Linked DNA regions of Homo sapiens: region 1 is linked to region 2. Evidence: promoter capture Hi-C in human tissues and cell types (Jung and others, 2019). All regions are on one chromosome and are shown on one strand. The core of a region is centred on a gene start or on the middle of the fragment in contact, and the rest is flanking DNA. Distances in the headings are between cores, read along the strand shown.

Region 1 (5,237 bases), core at 921-3,420, 160 kb after region 2:
ATAAAAATGGCAATCATAGAAACTGTGGACTACTAAGTGGGGAGGGAGAGAAGCAAAGGTTGAAAAAGTAACTGTTAGGTATGATGTTCAGTACCTGGGTGATGGGATCATTTGTGCCCCAAACCTCAGCACCACAAAATGTACTCAGGTAACAAATCCGCACATGTACTCCCTGAATCTAAAATATAAGTTGAAAAATAAAAATTGAAATTATATTTAAAAAATAAATATGCCAGTTGTGGTGGCTCACACCCATAATCCCAGCACTTTGGGAGGCTGAGGTGGGAGGATTGCTTGAGCTCAGCAGTTCAAGGCTAGCCTCAACAAATTGCAAAACCCTGTCTCTACGAAAAATACAGAAAATTAGCTGGATGTGGTGGCACATGCCTATAGTCCCAGCTACTTGGGAGGCTAAGGTTGGAGGATCGTTTGAGCCCAGGAGGTGGAGGTTGCAGCAAGCCAAGACTGGGCCGCTGCACTCCTGCCTGGGCAACAAGAGTGAGACTCTATCTCAAAAAATAAAAAATAAAAATAAATAAAAAGATAAACAATAAATAAAACTATACACTTTAAAAAAAAAGAAAAAGAAAAAAGAAATTCAAGGAATTCTGGAGACCTAAAACATTTTCTGGAATATAAAGGGAATAACAGATGGGTCCATTTTCATAGATAAATACCACTTTTTAAAAAATTTTAAATAAAGACAGGGTCTTGCTATGTTGCCCAGGCTGGTCACAAACTCCTGGGCTCAAGTGATTCTCCTGCCTTGGCCTCCCAAGACGCAATTTTAAAAATTTTATTTATTTATTTATTTTTGTGCATTGTAAGATAAATACCATCTTCTGATTTGCTGTTATTGAAACCATGACTCTGAGTCCAAATACTCCTGTGTGGCCATACAACCTTACATTCGTACACTGTTAAATTTTAAACTGGTTCTTTTTTCTTCTTCTTTTTTTTTTTTTTTATTTGAGACAGAGTCTGGCTCTATTGCCTAGACTGGAGTGTAGTGGCGCGATCTCGGCTCACTGCAACCTCTACCTCCCGGGTTCAAGCGATTCTCCTGTCTCAGCCTCCCCGGTAGCTGAGATTTTAGGCACCCATCACCATGCCCGGCTAATTTTTTTTTTTTTTTTGTATTTTTAGTAGAGACGGGGTTTCACTATGTTGGCCAGGCTGGTCTCGAACTCCTGACCTCAAGTGATCTGCCCGCCTCAGCCTCCCAAAGTGCTGGGATTACAGGCATGAGCCACCACGACTGACCCTAAAGTGGTTCTTAGGTAAAGGGCTTTTGCATTTCATTCATCCTTGGGTTTGTTTTTGAGGTATTTCTTCATACGGAAGGACTTAGCAGATGCTTTGGCAGACTCGTCAATTCTGAGTCAAAGCACATATGTGATAAGAAGCATAGGGCGTAGTGTCCAAGAATATTTTGTTCTCCCTAGTTTTAAAGTTTAAAGCCTTGTTTGCCTTATTTAAAGAGATGTGTTTGACAATTATTCAGATTTTTTTTTTTTTTTTTTTTTTAAGACAGTCTCGCTCTGTTGCCAGGCTGGAGTGCAGTGGTGTGATCTCGGCTCACTGCAACCTCTGCCTCCTGGGTTCAAGCAATTCTCCTGCCTCAGCCTACTGAGTAGCTGGGATTACAGGCGAGCGCCACCACACCTGGCTAATTTTTGTATTTTTAGTAGAGACGGTGTTTCACCATGTTGGTCAGTCTGGTCTCAAACTCCTAACCTCTTGATCTGCCCGCCTCGGCCTCCAAAAGTGCTGGGATTACAGGCGTAAACCACCACGCCCAGCCTAGAATTTATATTTTAAAACAGCTTTGCAAAGCTGAGTTTTGACATTTTCTATTTTGATGACTCATTTGACTATCCAAATAATATTCTTAAAGTTTAACAATATCTGGGCTTCTAACTTCCAACACTTGGTGTTTGAAACTGAGGTACACAAAACAGAAGAGAACCAAAAACAAAAGCTCAAAATGTTTTACCACAACAATTATTTAATATTTCTTCTTCATTTGCTCATTGTATACTCAAAGTTTTGACTATAATGATTTTAGCTTGTAATCTGTATACTGTGAATCCTAATGACTGTTAAACAGATTAATATAGAGCTATATTCAACCTATGAGCTCAAAATCAAGTTATCTTGTGTGTAATAGATATTCAATCTTTATTTCATTCTTTCATTCAACGTACATTTATTGAGGGCTTTCTAAGGGGCAGGCACTATTCTAGATGCTGAGACTACATCAGTGAACAAAACAGACAAATCCTTGCTTCAGCGGAGCTGATATTTTAGTGGAGCTTATGTTCATTTATCCAAAAATCTCAAATAATTAATTTTGAAAATGAACTCCACTTGTATGGGGGAAGGGAGAGAAATGACAGGAACTCCAAATCATTTGAAAGTTGCAGCATGGTGTAAAAGGCCACCTGATTTGCAATCAGGAGACATTGATGGTAGCCCTAGTTGTATTAATCCTTCTTGTTATTTTCTTATTCTTAGTTTTCTCATCTGTTAAATAATGACATTGAATTTCATAATCTCAAAAGTCTCTATGGATTAAATGATTGAGCAGTTTATTATTCTATGATATGTAACAGGCATTTACTAAATTAACATAAATTTACATACAATGAAATGCACAGATTACAGGGATTTATTTTTTAAAGTAAAGACATGTCTAATGAGTCATCCTAAACTCCTATACCTTCTGTGGCTGTAGTACTTTATAGAGTTATATATGATGTTCAGAGTAATGGTCCTGAGGCATTACAGGGTGCTGAATCAGTTAAGAGAATATTCAGTTATGTTCATGAGACTACTTATTAAAGCACGAAAATGGACTGAGGCAATTTAGAGAGATTTCAAACAAAAAGTGTCTCTCATTAACCCATACTTAATCAGAAGCTCAATTAACCAGTATACTCTGTTCCAAGATTTTACAGTTTTTAGACTTATTTTTCTTTACAACCATGACAATATTGCTTCTAAATCCCAGCCATTTCATATGTATACTGCTATAATCAATGGATTATTGCTCCCTCAAACAATATGAAATGCTTCTACCAAAACAATCACTTCAGAGATAGAAAAACAATTGTTTAAATATGAAACAGACTTGAGTGAGCTAAGATTGTGACTTTTGTTTTAAAACACTCTAGATGTATTCTATCGAATATATGTGCAATTAAAAAGCAAATTAAAAATAAGAAATAGCCAGGCATGGTGGCTCACATCTGTAATCCCAGTACTTTGGGAGGCTGAGGTAGGGGAATAGCTTGAGTCCAGGAGTTTGAGATCAGCCTGGGCAACATAGTGAGACATTATCTCTACAAAAAATAAACAAAATTAGTAGGGCGTAGTTGTGAGTGTCTGTAGTCCCAGCTACTCGGGAGGCTGAGATGGAAGGATCACTTGAGCCCAAGACATGGGGGCTGCAGTGAGCAGAGACTGCACCATTGCACTCCAGCCTGGGTGACAGAATGAGACTGTGTCTCAAAAAATAAAATAAAGTAAAATAAAATTAATAAATAATAGCAGGAAGTCCTCTTCTATTCATTGTACCTGAGAATCTAAAGCTAAAGAACAATTCCTTGAGATTTTAGTGGATACATAAACTGGTTCAACTCTACAGAGCAATAAAAGAAGATTTAAAAGAGTTTGGTTATGCAATATTTGATTGTCACATTCAGGGAGAGTTTTAAGCTTGGCCTATATACTAAATCTGTGTACTCATTCATTCTTTTGAACTTATTCCAAAATTACAACTTTCTTTCACAGAGTACCTCACATTCCACTCATTTTCCTTAAATTGGTAAGGAAATCGTATTTTATTTTATGTATTTATTTATATTTTATTTTATTTTATTTTTTTGAGATGGAGTCTCACCCTGTCGCCCATGCTGGAGTGCAGTGGCGTAATCTCGGCTCACTGACCTCTGCCTCCTGGGTTCAAGTAATTCTCCTGCCTCAGCCTCCCGAGTAGCTGGGACTATAGGTGCCCGCCACCACGCCCAGCTGATTTTGTATTTTTAGTAGAGACGGGGTTTCACCATATTGGCCAGGCTGGTCTTGAACTTCCGACCTTGTGATCCGCACCCGCCCCCCCCCCCCCCACCCGGCCTCCCAAAGTGCTGGGATTACAGGAGTGAGCCACCATGCCCGGCCTGTGTATTTATTTTTGAGACATAGTCTGGCTCTGTCGCCCAGGTTGGAGTGCAGTGGCGCAATCTCAGCTCACCTCCTGGGCTCAAATGAATCTCCTGCCTCAGCCTCCTGAGTAGCTGGGACTACAGATGTGAGCCACCACACCCGGATAATTTTTTTTATTTTTTATTTTTAGTAGAGACGGGGTTTCACCATGTTGACCAGGCTGGTCTTGAACTCCTGACCTCAGGTGATCCACCTACCTCAGTCTCCCAAGGGGGAAATCTTATTTCTTTGACCATGAACATCTCCTCAGAAATTATCATTGCCCACAATAGCATTTCCATTTTGTGAAAAAGCTAGAACCCTAATATCCTCCTTTCATGTCACTCTCTTTTGTCTTTTATCAGTTACTTCCTTTCATTGGTCATTTAAGTCAATCTTTTAGAAACGTTATGTTTTATTCCTTTCTCTCTCCTGGTTCTCCTTTACTTCTCACTCTTTTGTTTATTAATTATTATTTTAAAGAGACAGGGGTCTCCCTATGTTGCCCAGGCTGGTCTGAACTCCTAGACTCAAGCAGTCCTCCTGCCTTGGCTTCCCAAAGTGCTGGGATTATAGGTGTGAGCCACCGCACCCAGCCCGCTTCTCAGTCTTTTAAAACACCTTTCCTCATTATTCAAACTAACAACCTAAACATTTGTATTGAGGACATAACACACACCCAACAATGTGTGTGGTGAGTGTTCAAGGGATAGGTGTGATCTGGGCTTAGAGCTTGCAGTCAAAGAGCTCACAGTCTAGTTAGGGAGATAGCAAACATATCAGAAAAAACAAGACAACAAGAAAAACATTAACAGTAAACCACAGGGCTCTGGCTGCCAGTGTAACTCAGGAGTTCAGAAAACCAAGCAGCTAGAAGAGTCAAAGTAGAGAAATAGGCCAGGCGCAGTGGCTCACGCCTGTAATCCCAACACTTTGGGAGGCTGAAGGGGGTGGATTATCTGAGGCCAGGAGTTCAAGACCAGCCTGGCCAACATGGTGAAACCCCCGTCTCTACTAAAAAATACAAAAAT
Region 2 (4,889 bases), core at 2,280-4,779:
TATATTACTCATTTGTTTGTGGTAATGCTGGTATAAACCTACTGGGCTGGTGGTTATAAAAAGTGTAGCACATACAGTTATGTACAGTATACAATATTTGATAATGATAATAAACAACTATGTTACTGGTTTATGTATAATATTTAGCATGCTATGGCCAGGTGCGGTGGCTTACGCCTGTAATCCCAGCACTTTGGGAGGCCAAGGCGAGCGGATCACAAGGTCAGGAGCTCGAGACCATCCTGGTTAACACAGTGAAACCTCATCTCTACTAAAAATACAAAAAATTAGCCGGGCGTGGTGGCGGGCGCCTGTAGTCCCAGCTACTCAGGAGGCTGAGGCGGGAGAATAGCATGAACCCACGAGGCAGAGCTTGCAGTGAGCTGAGATCGCGGCACTGCACTCCAGCCTGGGCAACAGAGCAAGACTCCATCTCAAAAAAAAAAAAATATATTCAGTATGGTATGCTCTTTACTGTTTAGAGTACACTCCTACGTATTCAAAAAAAAAAAAAAAAAGTTGACTGTAAAAAAGCCTCAGGCAGGTCCTTCAGGAAGTATTCCAGAGGGCACTGTTATCATAGGAGATGACAGCTTCATGCATGTTATTACTACTGAAGCCCTTCCAGTGGGACAAGATATGGAGGTGAACAGCAGTGATACTGATGATCCTGACCCTGTGTAGGCCTAGACTCGTGTGTGTGTCTTAGTTTGCAACAAAACAAGTTTAAAGCCAGGCACAGTGGCTCACGTCTGTAATCCCAGCACTTTGGGAGGCTGAGGCAGGAGGGTAACTTGAGCCCAGGAGTTCAAGACCAGCCTGGGTAACATAGCAAAACCCCCTCTCTACAAAAAATACAGAAATTAGCCAGGTGTGGTAGCTTCCGCCTGTAGTCCCAGCTACTCAGGAGGCTGAAGTGGGAGAATCACTTGAGCCCAGGAGGTTGAGGTTGCAGTGAGCCGTGATTGCACAATTGCACTCCAGCCTGGGCGACAGTGAGACCCTGTCTCCAAAAAAAAAAAAAGTTTAAAAGGTAAAAAGAAAAAAAAAGTAATAGAAAAAAGCTTGTAGAATAAGGATATAAAGAAAATATTTTTGTACAGCTGTACAATGTGTTTTATGTCTTAGCTGTGTTATAACAAGAGTCAAAAAGTGTAAAAAAACTTAAAGTTTATAAAGTAAAAGTTACAGTAAACTAAGGTTTACTGTTGAAAATAATATTTTAATAAATTTAATATAGGTGAAGTGTACAGTATTCATAAAGTCTACAATACTGTAAAGTAATACATTCACTCACCTCTTACTAACTCACTCAGAGAAACTTTCAGTTCTGCAAACTCCATTCATGATAAGTGTCCTACACAGGTTGTGCCCTTTTTTTTTTTCCTGTATACAGTATTTTCTTTTTTTCTTTTTCTTTTTTTTTTTTTTTGAGACAGTCTCGCTCTGTCGCCCAGGCTGGAGTGCAGTGGTGCGATCTCGGCTCACTGCAACCTCTGCCTCCCAGGCTCAAGCCATTCTCCTGCCTCAACCTCTTGAGTAGCTGGGATTACAGGCGCCCGCTACCACACCCGGCTAATTTTTGTATGTTTAGTAGACACAGGGTTTCACCATGTTGGCCAGGCTGGTCTTGAACTTCTGACCTCAGGTGATCCACCCACCTCGGCCTCCCAAAGTGTTGGGATTACAGGCATAAGCCACCACACCCGGCCAGGTGTTTTCACTGTACCCTTTCTATATTTAAATACAAAAATGCTTACCATTGTGTTACAATTGCCTACAGTATTCAGTACAGTAACTTGACGTACAGCTATACCATTTAGCCTAGGTGTACAGGAAGCCATACCATCTAGGTCTCTGGAAGTACACTCAAAGATGTTCGCACAATGACGAAATCGCCTACCAACTCATTTCTCAGAACATAACCCTGCTGTTAAGCAATGGATTACTCTTATTTCCCAAGGCTCAATCCTAACATTCTCGGGAAGCCTTCTTGACTCCTATCATTAAGCCAAATACCCCTCTTATGCACTCTCCCAGATTCACGAATATTTTCTTCCCAAAAGTTACCACTATTGCAATTTTTTTTTTTTTTTTTTTGAGACAGGGTTTCAATCTGTCACCCAGCCTGGAGATCAGCAGCACGATCACAGCTCACTGCAGCATCGACCTCCCCAGGCTCAGGTGGTCCACCTGCTTCAGCCTCCCAATTAGCTGGGACCACCACGCCCGGCTAATTTTTTTTTTTTTCTGTATTTTTTGTAGAAACGGGGCCTTGCTATATTGCCCAGGCTGGTCTTGAATTCCTGGACTCAAGTGATTCTCTTGCCTTGGCCTCCGGAGTCGCTGGGATTATAGGCGTGAGCCACTGCGCCTGGCCCTATCACTATGGTAACTTTACATTTATCTGAATTCCTTTTTTTTTAGACGGAGTCTCACTCTGTTACCTAGGCTGGAGTGCAGAGGTGCAGTGTCGGCTCACTGTGCAACCTCCGCCTCCGGGTTCAAGCGATTCTCCTGCCTCAGCCTCCCAAGTAGCTGGGATTACAGGCACGCGCCACCACGCCTGGCTAATTTTTTTTTTTTGTATTAGTAGAGACGGGGTGTCACCACGTTGGCCAGGCTGGTCTCGAACTCCTGACCGCAAGTGATCCGCCCGCCTCAGCCTCCCAAAGTGCTAGGATTACAGGCGTGAGCCACCGCGCCCGGCCATTATTTGTATTGTTTTTTGTTTGTTTTGTTTTGTTTTGTTTTGTTTTGAGAGTCTCGTTCTGTCGCCCAGGCTGGAGTGCAGTGGCGCGATCTCGGCTCACAGCAACCTCCGCCTCCCGGGTTCAAGCGATTCTCCTGCCTCAGCCACCGCGCCCGGCCCATTATCTGGATTCTTTAGTACCTGTTCCTCTAGACTCTACGCTCCATTAAAGCAGGAACTCCATCTGTTGCAACACCTAGCACAGCGTCCGGCACACTGCAGTTCTTCAATAAATACTTGCTGCATGAAGCCCTCTCTTCACCACCACCCCCACCCCTCCTCCTCGCAAAAAAAAAAAAAAAAAAAAAATGCCCCAGGGAAGGGTCCCTATCTACTCTGTCCACCACTGCCCAGGGCCCATCAGTGGGCCCAATGGCTATTTGGCGAGTAAATAAATGGGGTCAGGAGAAACGAAGGGGAAAGGATGTGTCAGAGGCCAGGACTGCCCCCTAAGATGGAGGAGGCCTAACTCTGGGAGCTTCCGCCTCTCCGAACGAGCGTCGCCAAGAGAAACCCCCTCAGAAGCGAAAAGGGCCAGGAAAAGAGGTCAGCCCCGGCCAGGCAAAGACATCACCTAAGCTCCCCAGCAGCCCCGTGTCTCTCCGCCTTTTCCTTCTCCCTTCCCGTCATGGGAAAGACTCCCGCCCGTGTCGTCACCTACACACACGAAAGAGACACAGGGAGAGAGGCTTCCATTCACGGTCACTCACAGGCGCAGCGGTTTCTGTGCCATCTGTCCGAATAGTATGGGTTGCGACTGCCACCTAAAATTGGGAATGCGAATCCGCGCTCCCCGGAAAAATGCGACCGCGCAACAATCAGACGTCAGCGCCCTCCAGCCAATAACGGTTCACTTACTTACGGAGACCGCCGAGGGACAGAAGCCTCTCTCAGGTGTTTGCGCCTCAAGGAAGAATCAAGAGGGAAAGGGAGGAACGAAGGGAGAAAGAGAAAGTGACCGAAAGGATTCCAACTATGATTTTTTAAATTAAATTTCAGAGCACTTGAAGCGAATGAATGGCTAGGAAGTACAGAGCACAATGTCGGGTTCTAACCTAACCTAACCTAACCTAACCTAACCTAACCATATCGGTCTAGTGGGCAAGACAGACCCCCTCTATCCACGTTTTTTGTAAGTTTTTAACCTATCAAAAAGTTAAGAGGCCGGGCGTGGACGCTCACGCCTATAATCCCAGCACTTTGGAAGGCTGAGGCGGGCGGATCACTTGAGGTCGGGCGTTCAAGACCAGCCTGGGCAACATGGTGAAACCCCGTCTCTTCTAAAAATACAAAAATTAGCCGGGCATGGTGGAGAATTGCTTCAACCAGGGAGGCGGGGGTTGCAGTGAGTCAAGATCGCGCCATTGCACTCCAGCCTGGACAACAAGAGCGAAACTCCGTCTCAAATTAAAAAAAAAAAAGTTAAAAGAATAATGGCTATTACCTTGATTCAGTAAGTCTCAGCATGTTGGCAAATTTGCTTGTGTTCTCTTTCTCTCAAAGTGCCCAAGCCCTTCCATTCTCACTCAATCATTTGAAAGTAAAGTACAGGCCGGGCGCAGTGGCTCACGCCTGTAATCCCAGCACTTTGGGAGATCCAGACCATCCTGGCTAACACGGTGAAACCCCCTCTCTACTAAAAATACAAAAAATTAGCCGGGCGTGGTGGCACGCACCTGCAGTCCCAGTTACTCGGGAGGCTGAGGCAGGGGAATCGCTTGAACCCAGGAGGAGGAAGTTGCAGTGAGCCGAGATCGCGCCACTTCACTCCAGCCTGGGCGACAGAGCGAGACTCCGTGTCAAAAAATAAAATAAAATAAAGTGCGGACAACAGGAATACATCTCCATTTATCTCCTAAGATTAGGATATCCTCCTACATAACCGTAATACTATTAACACAGCTAAGAAAATTAACATTAATTATTCAATAATATTACCTAATATACATCCATATTTAAAGTTCTCCATATTTCCCTACAAACTGATTTTATATTTGGGGCTTGTTTTGATTCAGATGCAATCAAGTTTCACACTTGCATTTGGTTCTGTCTCTATTTTAATCTACAAAAGCCCTCCTACCTATTTGGTTTTAGTTTTTGTAATATTGACTTTTTTGAAGGGTTCAGGCCAAGTGGT

The links. Contacts are between HindIII fragments. The study calls those that stand out against the background at their distance.
Region 1: a contact is called between a fragment that was not itself captured here and the fragment with the promoter of CWF19L1 in region 2, in 3 of the 25 tissues and cell types used here (hippocampus, lymphoblastoid cells and thymus).

What each region holds. Positions count from the first base shown.
Region 1 is chr10:100,427,727-100,432,963 of GRCh38, forward strand. No RefSeq gene overlaps it. Among named protein-coding and RNA genes, the nearest start is that of WNT8B, 33 kb to the right of the region's middle. The HindIII fragment of the contact is 6,021 bases long and covers 1-5,181 here.
Region 2 is chr10:100,264,109-100,268,997 of GRCh38, forward strand. It overlaps CWF19L1 (CWF19 like cell cycle control factor 1), which reads right to left and starts at 3,530. Exons shown (of 14, transcript NM_018294.6): 1 at 3,463-3,530. The coding sequence starts at 3,485. RefSeq lists an enhancer at 1,261-1,510. The HindIII fragment of the contact is 27,589 bases long and covers 211-4,889 here.